Linked DNA regions of Homo sapiens: all the other regions are linked to region 1. The links are contacts of gene promoters, found by promoter capture Hi-C in human tissues and cell types (Jung and others, 2019). All regions are on one chromosome and are shown on one strand. Each heading gives the region's core, a stretch centred on a gene start or on the middle of the fragment in contact. The rest is flanking DNA. Distances are from core to core; before and after follow the strand shown.

Region 1 (3,337 bases), core at 68-2,567:
ATAATCAAGAAAGGGAGCATAGTATTTTCTCTGTGGAAGTGACACTTGCTTACCCACTTATGCTTACTCAAGAAGTAAGAGCATTGGAGAAAATTTATGGAGAAGGTAAGCCTCTAGAAGTGATTACAGGGGAAACTATTAGCAGACATCAGAAGGAGTTGACTGTGGTTTCACAAAGCAAATATACTGTTTGCTGTACAAAGCATCATAAGACAGCCTCTTCTTTTTATACCATGGGTTGCTCTCTTTTTTTCTGATCATCTTCTGTGGCCTTCTCCTTTGAGCCTCTTATTGTTACCCTTTCTGGAAGCTGTCTGGCTTGGCAGAAAGAGTATGGGTTTCAAAATGAGACAGTTTATAGTTCAAATTATGGAGTTGTTACTTTTTACCTGCATATGTTCTTCTCAATCTCTTCCCCAACCCCATAACCTGATAAAAATAATTGCAGGATAGCGGGGAATCAATGGAAGTACATATTATACAAAGCCTATACAACTTAAGAACTCAAAAATATTAGTTTCTAACCCTATCTCTCCCTTTTAAAGGAGCTATTTTTGCATGAATTTATAATTCATTCTGCACATGCCAAGTCAGATAATGCCTGAAAACCAGCAATTTAGAATTGAAGATGGACAATGAAAGCCATTAAATAATAAGAGCCTTAAATTAATATCAAAGAGTTACAAATATCAATAATGTGTATCTAAACAACTAAAAGATAATTACAGGACTAGGTTGTCCCTGAAAGTTCAAATTTAAGTCAAGTTCTCAAATAAACCTCAAAGCCTTTTCCTTTAGCAATACCATTTATTTTATACATGTCACAATAAATTTATTTTATACATGTCACGTTTAGACATAAAGTCTTAGAATTGAGAATTCTGTCTCACTGTTACTCACAGATATAGGGAGTTTTATTTACTTAATGTTGTTTAATTAATTTACTCAAACAAGCAATGGTTCTTTCAAAATGGTGATATTAATACTATTAATAAAAGAGTTCATAAGCACCCATTTTTAGTCAATAAGTCATCCCAATTTCCAACAGAAAAAATAAATGTTAACCTTACCGTAAATGTACAAGTTTTAGCGATGGCATCCAAGGCCATTATTTTCCAGCTTTCTTCAATGTTGTCTGGCATGGGTGTGTAAAAATGAGAGACAAAAAGAACACAAAGCAGCCCCAAACAGAGAGCTTTTAGCCCCATAATATCCCTTTTTCCAGCTTCTTCACAGTACTGAGATTAAAATTTTTCACAAACACTGAATAGTAACTAGTAGAGCAATTGTAGACTTGGGAACTCTCTCAGGTGATATGATCATCTTAACAACATGAAGCTAATTTTCAATTCAAATGTTACAGTGTCAGTAGTAACTTGTTTTGCAAGCACACAGACTGGAACAGATCTCATAATTCATGAGGGCGTGCATGCATTATTATCATGCAATGTAATACTCTTACAGTGTTTCTTCACCCTGTGATACCATCATCAGCCCAAAACAACTTTATTATTGAGACTTAAACCTAAATGAAACCTAAATGAACCTAAATGACAGCACTGAATAAGTCATGAAGTAAATTTTTGTGATTGGGTGGTGGTTGCAACATATTTTAAGAACAGGTTTTTTTTTTTTAGCTTGCTGATATTAAGTCAAAATCCAGGCTAATGCCATTATCATGGATTATTAAACATGTTAACAAAACTTTCTTGTGGTGAAACAAGTTTTGGATTAAAAAACAAGGAATGAGGCAACTTGTCCGAGTTCTATTAAGCATCAAACTAGAATTTTTCCATAGACTAAGCCTGGAAGCTCAGTGCAATTATCTGTTTTCTTAGAGGATTACATAGTATGATGATGAACTTTATGTGTCAATTTGACTGAGCTAAGGGATGCTTGTGAACAGTAAATAGCTTGTAAAAAAGTATTTCTAGGTATGTCTTTGAGAGTGTTTCTGGAAAAAATCAGCATTTGAACTGGTAGAGTGAATGAAGAAAATCACCTTCCCCAGTGTGGGTGGGCAGAATCCAATCCATTGATGGACTGAACAGAACAAAAATGTGAAGGAAAGGTAAATTCACTCTCTTCTTGGGCTGGGACATTGTTGTAACGCTAATTCATATTAGTGCTGCCTCAGCACCACCTTCTTGGTCCGTCCCCAGCTTGTCACAAATGTCCTACATATTTTGAGACAGTCTCCACCCAGTTTCTGTTTCAACATAGATGTGGTCCCATTTGCTGCCTTATTTTTGCTTTAAGTCTGGTGAACACAATCATGTAACCCAAGTTCTCACACTTAAACTCATGCTTCCTTCAAATTAACCAATCCAACTCTGTTGTGGAAAACCCATCTAGGTAATCCTGAACCCCAATAAAGGGTTCTACCCATAGGTCCCTCCATCTCTCACTTGCTTTTCATCTGCTGGGTGAGAGACAGTGTCCTTGACTGCCTCACCCTTTCCATTGGCTCTGCAAGGCATTTTACACTCCTCTTTCTGGAATCTGCAAGTAATTGTAGTCTAATTGTGCTGTACCTGACTACACCAAACCTAACTTAAATTCTTCTTCACTTAACAAACCACAACAGACATCCATCTTCTCCTGCCCTTGGATATCAGAGCTCCTAGTTCCTATGCCCTTAGACTCTGAAACTCACACCAGACACCACCTCCCTGCTCCCAGTTCTCAGGTCTTCAGACTCAGACTGGTTTTATAGAACATTAACTTTCCTGGTTCTGGTTCTCCACCTTATATACAGCATACTGTGGGACTTCTTTGCCTAGATAATTGCATGGGCCAATTTACACTTTTTTATATATATATACACACACACACACACACACACATATGCATATATACATGCTAATATATGGATAGAGACACACATTTATATATTATAACTATACAATATATAAATTTATATATTGTATAGTTATATATTATATATGTATATATAATAAATTATATATAAATTTATATATTATAAATATATATAAATATGTGTGTATATAACATATAAATTTATATATCTTTATATATTATATATGTATATATAATTATATATAGAAATTTATATATTATAACTATATATAAATATATGTATCTATCCATATGTTATATATAATACAATAGATAATAGATATATAGATATAGATATATAGATGTATATAGATATATAGATGTATATATAGATATGGATATATAAATATAATGTATGATCGATATCTATATATAGGTATATAGATATACCCGTGTTTGTGTGTGTGTGGATGTGTCTATCTATCTATCTATCTATCTATCTATCTCCTGTTGGTTCTATTCCTTTAGAGAACCCTGA
Region 2 (3,456 bases), core at 956-3,455, 46 kb after region 1:
TCCTAGAAGAAGTAAAACAATGAGAGATACCTAGCCTTAATAATTTGAATGATAGAAATATACGCATTTAAGGATTATAATCAAAAAGATAATTTGTATGCCAGGGTGACAAAAAGACAAAGAAAAAACCTGTTCTATTAGAGAGCCAACTTAAAACATCATGAAGAAAATTAAATTCAGGTTTTTCTTTAGAGACTTCTTGTAGCCAAAATCAACTCAGGATTCAGTCCAGATTTCAAATAGATAATAAAACCACACAGAAAATGAACTGGGCTAGAAACTAATATTGAATACATATTGAATACATTACAGTTTTCTTCTGAAACCTAATTTTTCTCTCTATAGTCACCCTTACTTCTAACAAAAATAATTATAATCGAACTAATTTATTTGTTAAATAAATGTTAGTCTCATTATACTTGGCCTGTTTATTTGCATAAAGAGCAGCAATAAGAGTGATCAGCCACATACGCTCCTTCTAAGTTGGCTTTGCTGGAACTTTTTCATAAGGAATTTCAGATTAGACTTTTAAAAGCCTCTTGTGGCTCAGAAGCCAAGCCAAGGTTTACCATCAGATTGTGCCTGTCATATCTGTACAAGTTGGATGAATTTCTATTTTCTTGAGGTCCCAAAACATCTTGAATTTCCTGGGCCTGTCAGGAAGTGACATTACTTACTGCAAGGTTGAGAACCTCATAAGGGAACCATGTATACAGGTTAGGAGGCCAGTCTTTTCAAACTCTACTGGCTCTATAAAGTCAACTTCAATCCCTCAAAGCAATCTGGCCATATCTGAAAAGATGCCATTCCAGTCAAAGCGTTGGTAAAAATAGCCAATGTTTCCAATGCGTCCTGTTATAAAAGGAAAACAGATTATTGTTGAACTTATAGAAATAACTATATTGCCATAAAACAAGAATACTCACTAATAGTTTCCGAATTCTGGAGGGATGAGGTGGGAAGAAGAAGTAAATGTTTCCATTTTTGTTTACTAAAGTAAACTTTACCAAGTTGCTGTAAGCTATGAACAGCTTAAAAGAAAAAAAAGTTTTTTTAGGTCTGGAAAACAAAACAATCAAAGAACCAGCAGTGTTTGAAATAATGTCATGTCATTAGAAATGTCAGTCCTTCATCAGTTCAGTCCCATGTAATTAATTATTGTTCTGATTGATGTTGGATTAATAATCTTCATAAACCCACCAGTTTTTCATTAGAGGTCTGAATTTTTAAATCTAGTCCAATGGTATGATCTCCAAAGTTATCAGAAATCTATATTCAAGAGTTCTTGTCGTGGTTCTTTTCATAAATTTTCTTGAAGACACAACACTTTAGGATTTGCAAAGAACTTTTAAAGGAAAATAAAGCATCAGAATAAAGTAATTTACTGTGCTTACCAAGACACAGCAGAATTTTTGTTTGAAATCTCATGCAATTTTGGAACACATATTAATTACATATTCATACAAATATAATTCAAAGTATTTCAAACACTATTTCATATTTGACAATGCTTCCCATATAATTTTAACATCCCAGTAAGCCTAATGTGTCCCTCTTGGACTTCCTTTTTTTGAATGTCCAATAGTTAGTTCAAGATCAACAAACCTAATTTTAGACTTTGAAATTTGATTTTGGAAAGCCTTCCAAATGTGTCAAAGGTTTAAAAAAGACTTGATTTCAAAGTAGACTGATTACTATGAAATAACAGTCATTCATTTAGTCAAAGTGATAATTCAAAAATTCCAAAAGCCAAAACGTTTACCTTTTAATAGAGAGGGAATTCAGTTTTCCAAACAATCAAAAGACGTAATAAAGACAGTATCAGACCAACAGAATCTGTCTCTTCCTTTCTCTTTTGTTTTTACGGTTTACTGAAAAGGTAAATTAAAAATCCTTTATTATTTCTTATTAATACTATTGAAATTTTGTATAATTAATGCTAAAGCTAATTTTAATAAAATGTTATAAACAGATCCATCCAATCTCAATCAGCTTTGAATATACAAGATAAGATTTTCATAAATCTTTTATAACTTATTATAATTTTTCTATTCCTTTTCACTACTTTCTATATTTCTATATTCAGTTATCATTCTATTCTTTTATTCCTTGAATATAATACAACCTTTACATAACCTTTAAAAGGGCAAACTTACTTTTTGTTTAACAAAAAACACATCTTCATGTCTTTCTTATAATCTTCCTTACCAAAGACACATCTTATTTTCTCATACTTTCTGTATATGGAATTATTTCTCTTTTTACATCTAGTTGCAGTTAACATGTAATAGCCAGAATTTTAACTCTTAATAACTCAATTCATAGTGAAAACCTAAGAAATAAGCAATTTTTAACTGTCGGTCACATGCCAAGAATTTATGAATAAAAATTTTATAATATTTGAAAACACAGGCTTTCTAATTTAACAATTTTTTTAATGTGGAAAAGGACTTTTTACTAATAGATCAAAATAACTTTTGTTTCTCTGAAATAATAAGTCAAAAGCATAAATACTTAAGCTCATAATTAATTATTAATGTCTTGGAATTATATCTTATATGGAAGTGATTTAGATATTCAACTGTTAGAGTAGGTAGCTTAGGCAGACATGAGCAGGGCAGGAGAGCCCACCCATCATGCCAGGAATGGCAAGAGACCATCATGTGATGGTCAGGTGGTTGTTAAACTGTCTCTCTAAAATAATTGGTCAAGTTGGTACTAGGGAAAGGCAGTCTCCCAATAGATAGAAAGCACCTGAAGCTGGTGATTACCAGCTTCCTGGTAAAATCTCAGGAGTTGGGCAAGTGGGCGTATGCATGCACATTAAGAGGTAAAATGATGGAGTTTAACTGGTGTCTAACCCTCCTTTGGGAATACTCAACTAGTAAGGGAAAAATGCCTTAGATGAGCATGCACACAACTTCAGTAAACGTACTGCACATGCAGCTCCTCCTAAGTGCTAGCAGGCCACTGCACATGCGGACAGCCCATCTCAAGAGAAGAATCAGGGAGAAGAAATGCAAAGCCCAGAATCTTGCCAATGTATAAAACCCCAAGTCGAAGGTTGGACAGAGCACTTGGATCTCGCTAGTCTCCTGCTTGGCCCTTTTCCAAGTGTACTTTACTTCCTTTTGTTCCTGCTCTAAAAGTTTTTAATAAACTTTCACTCTTGCTCTAAACCTTGTCTGTCTCTCACCCTGCCTTATGCTCCTTGGCTGAACTCTTCCTTCTGAGAAGGCAAAAATCGAGTTGCTGCAGACCTGTACAGATTCACCACTGCTAAAACAACAAATATTCATCATTTAATATAGCTTAGCAAAATTCTGAGGGTATAGTTATTAAAAATATTTGAAAAACCATTTTAAGCAAACGTATTATAAAACATAATTATTGTTAAAAGTTAATTTATAACTTTTATTCATTCTTGACAGTTGTTTGGAAATTTTCATGTTAGAC
Region 3 (3,358 bases), core at 195-2,694, 48 kb before region 1:
GCCGAGATTGTGCCACTGCACTCCAGCCTGGCCAACTGCACTCCAGCCTGGGTGACAAAGCAAGACTCCGTCTCAAAAACAAAAAACAAAAAACAAAAAACAAAAAAAAAAAAAAAGAAAAAGAAAAGGATCAAATAACTAAGAATTCTAATTTGGCTTTAACACTGAACGAATTAGTTCTGAGTAAGTCCTATAGTCCCTCTGTGAAACAGGTGGGTCAGATTGATTTGTTTTCTAAATGGGAGTATTCCAAGTGTGTTCTTTCTCTTCATGCTGCAATCATCTGTATAATTATCTTTTTTAATTTCTATAGGGCAGTGGTATCCTAATTAGAAAATAACTCTCTCAGGTGTTTTGTGGGAGATTGGGAGCCATAAATACAAAAATATTTATTAAAGTTGAGCAAGAACATATTAGGATTCTCATTCCTGCTATAAAAATCTAATTCATTTTAATTTTCATGTTTTAAATATTCAAATTATAGTGGTGTTAAGAGAAATATTATCTATAAATCAACATGCATATTTTCAGGGTGTGCTAAATGTTTCTTGTTAATGGGGTACTAAATTAGGGGAGTAGAGACCAGCAATTTGAGTTTTAAGAAGGACTTCAGGTGATTCTGATGCAAGTTAAAATTTGGGATCCACTGGTATAGGTCATAAATAGTGATTATTGAAGCTACATGCATTTGGGTGCTTCTCAGACCGAAGTTTAATGGGTAAATTGGAAGTCTATTTCTGAAAACTCGCAACAGCATTTTCTATATAGTGTTGAAGAAAGTACAGCATGCTGACATTCTTCCTTTAACATAAATATAACACTTTCTAAAAATAAAAAATAAAATAAAATATGCACATACAGCAGTAAAACCAAATAGCAGCAAATTTTATTTTATTACATTTAAAACAAAGTTAATAACGGGAACCACTTAGCAAAATAAAATATTTATAAGTCCATTAGAATATTTTTTATGTAAAAATAATTTCTGAATTTAAATAATCAGTTTAGTGTTATAGCTGAAGTAAGATTGCCACACACATTCCATTTAGCTCAATATCTAGTATGAAAGATGCTGTTTACATTAGTAGAGGTGTGGTAAATAATTAAGTAGGTAGCTAATAGGTGGCTGATTTTAGATAAGGAAAAACACAAAAATATTTTATGTTTTACCAATAAATTCAATTTTACAGGTAACTAAATCTTTGAATGTGCAGTTATTTTATTAATCCTTTATTATTAAATAAAATAAACATAGAAAATCAAGCACATAGGCTGGGCACGGTGGCTCACGCCTGTAATCCCAGTACTTTGGCAGGCCAAGGCAGGCGGATCACGAGGTCAAGAGATCGAGACCATCCTGGCCAACATGGTGAAACCCCGTCTCCACTAAAAATACAAAAGTTAGCTGGGCATAGTGGCGCACGCCTGTAGTCCCAGCTACTTGTGAGGCTGAGGCAGGAGAATTGCTTGAACCCGGGAGGCGGAGGTTGCAGTGAGCCGAGATGGCACCACAGCACTCCAGCTTGGCGACAGAGCGAGACTCCGTCAAAAAAAAAAAAAAGAAAAGAAAAGAAAGCACATAGCTTCATAAAACAGAAATGCAAAATAGAACAAATATTTGTAAGGTTCAGGGAGTTCACCATATGCCCTGAATTGATCATTTACCTTTCTTCCCTCCCAGAAATCATCACTCTTTATTTTATGGTATTTAACATTGCAAGTTTCTTTAGAATTATACCACCTGTGCGCATTTTTAATCCACGTAGGTTATCTGGTTAAGGAAATTCTATCTATTCCTAGTTAACCAATAATGATAACAATTATTGTGACTTTTCCCAAATTCTTTTTCTGCATCTAGTGAGATGCTATATCATTTTGCTTCTGTAATTTACTAATATGAGGGAAATTAACTGATTTTTATAAAATACAGTTTCCTTCCATTATTAGCAACTTGATAATGGTATATTTTGTTCATGTTGCTAATATCTTAGTTTTATGCGTGTTATTGGTTCATTGTTTTATTCCTGAAATTAATTTGCTCTTGTTTCCTGACAACAATCTGCTCTTGCTTGATTGGTTATAAAAAATATGCTTCTCTGAAAATAAATCAGAGAATATACACAGTTTTCCTATCCTCTGGCATACTTCATGTTTATTTGGAATTATTTCATCTTTGAATGTTTAACGTGTATTACCAATGAGGTTTTCTACTGGTACTGTATTTTGAGTATCTCTTATTCAAAATGCGTGGGACAAAAATGTTTCAGATTTCTGTTTTTTTTTTTTAATTTTATTTTGGAATATTTGTATCATACCTACTAGTTCAGCATCCCCAATCCAAAAAATTAATATCCAAAATGCTCTAGTTAGCATTTTCTTTGAGTGTCATATTGGTGCTCATAACATTTTACATTCTGGAGCATTTTGAATTTTGAATTTTCAAATTAGGGATATTCAACCTGTACTGATTTAATTATTTTAGTAGTTATTAAATGACTCAGATTTTTATTTCTCGTGTCTATCTGGTGAGTTATATTTTTCTTGGAATTTGATTATTTACATATTTTTCCATTTTGTTTTAATTGAAAAGTTTTTCAAAATATCTCTTTTAAGACTTACAGTGTGCATTATTAACTTATTAAAGGCTAATTCTTTTTTATTTCTGAAGGATCTACATACAATCTTACCCCTTTTTCAATTCTGTCATTAATCTGTTTCTCTCTGCTTGTCTTTCTAGAGATTTTACAATTTTATTCATCTTTTCAAAGTATTAAGTTTTTACTTTTCATTCATACTACTGAAGCTTGTTAGGAATATCATAATTTCTGATATTATCACTATTATTATCTCCTTTGTATTTTTAGGGACGTCTGTTCTTTTTTAAAAAGAATTATTGAGTCAGATACATAATTTTAGCCTTTCTTATTTTCTAATATATGCTTTTAAGGATATACAAATTCCTATAAATATTGCTCTAAATGTGGAGAACATTTAAAAGGTGTTTAAAAGATAATAAAAGCATCATAGCCCAGTACATCATCCATTTAAAAAAAAAAATCCTTGTGTGCTTGCTTGTTCCTCTGTTCTTTATACATCCATTACACGAAATGTGTTGTTATTCCAGCAGTCTTTCAGCTTACTATTATTGTTGTCTGCTTCTTATTTTAATTTTTGAAGGAGGTATCCTTAAATTTCTCGCTATCATTGTGGACTTGTGTATTTTTCCCTGCACTTCTGTTAATATTTTCTTCATTTATTTTAAGGCCATATTATTAAATCCACGCAGATTTAGGGTGTTGTATTTTCTTGGTAATTTAAACTTTTTCTGTAATGATGTAACCTTCTTTTTTAACCTAGC

What was found. The method cuts DNA at HindIII sites, captures the fragments that hold promoters and counts their contacts. A contact is called where the count stands out against the background at its distance.
Region 2: a fragment that was not itself captured here is called in contact with the fragment with the promoter of AADACL2 in region 1 in 1 of the 25 tissues and cell types used here (mesenchymal stem cells).
Region 3: a fragment that was not itself captured here is called in contact with the fragment with the promoter of AADACL2 in region 1 in 2 of the 25 tissues and cell types used here (H1 embryonic stem cells and liver).

Annotation. Positions count from the first base shown.
Region 1 is chr3:151,731,907-151,735,243 of GRCh38, reverse strand. AADACL2 (arylacetamide deacetylase like 2) reads right to left here and starts at 1,317. Exons shown (of 5, transcript NM_207365.4): 1 at 1,071-1,317. The coding sequence starts at 1,208. The HindIII fragment of the contact is 19,032 bases long and covers 1-3,337 here.
Region 2 is chr3:151,686,918-151,690,373 of GRCh38, reverse strand. No RefSeq gene overlaps it. Among named protein-coding and RNA genes, the nearest start is that of AADACL2, 45 kb to the left of the region's middle. The HindIII fragment of the contact is 4,948 bases long and covers 1-3,456 here.
Region 3 is chr3:151,779,982-151,783,339 of GRCh38, reverse strand. All of the region lies in intron 1 of AADACL2-AS1 (AADACL2 antisense RNA 1), which reads left to right. It also overlaps the pseudogene AADACP1. Among named protein-coding and RNA genes, the nearest start is that of AADAC, 32 kb to the left of the region's middle. The HindIII fragment of the contact is 5,160 bases long and covers 1-3,358 here.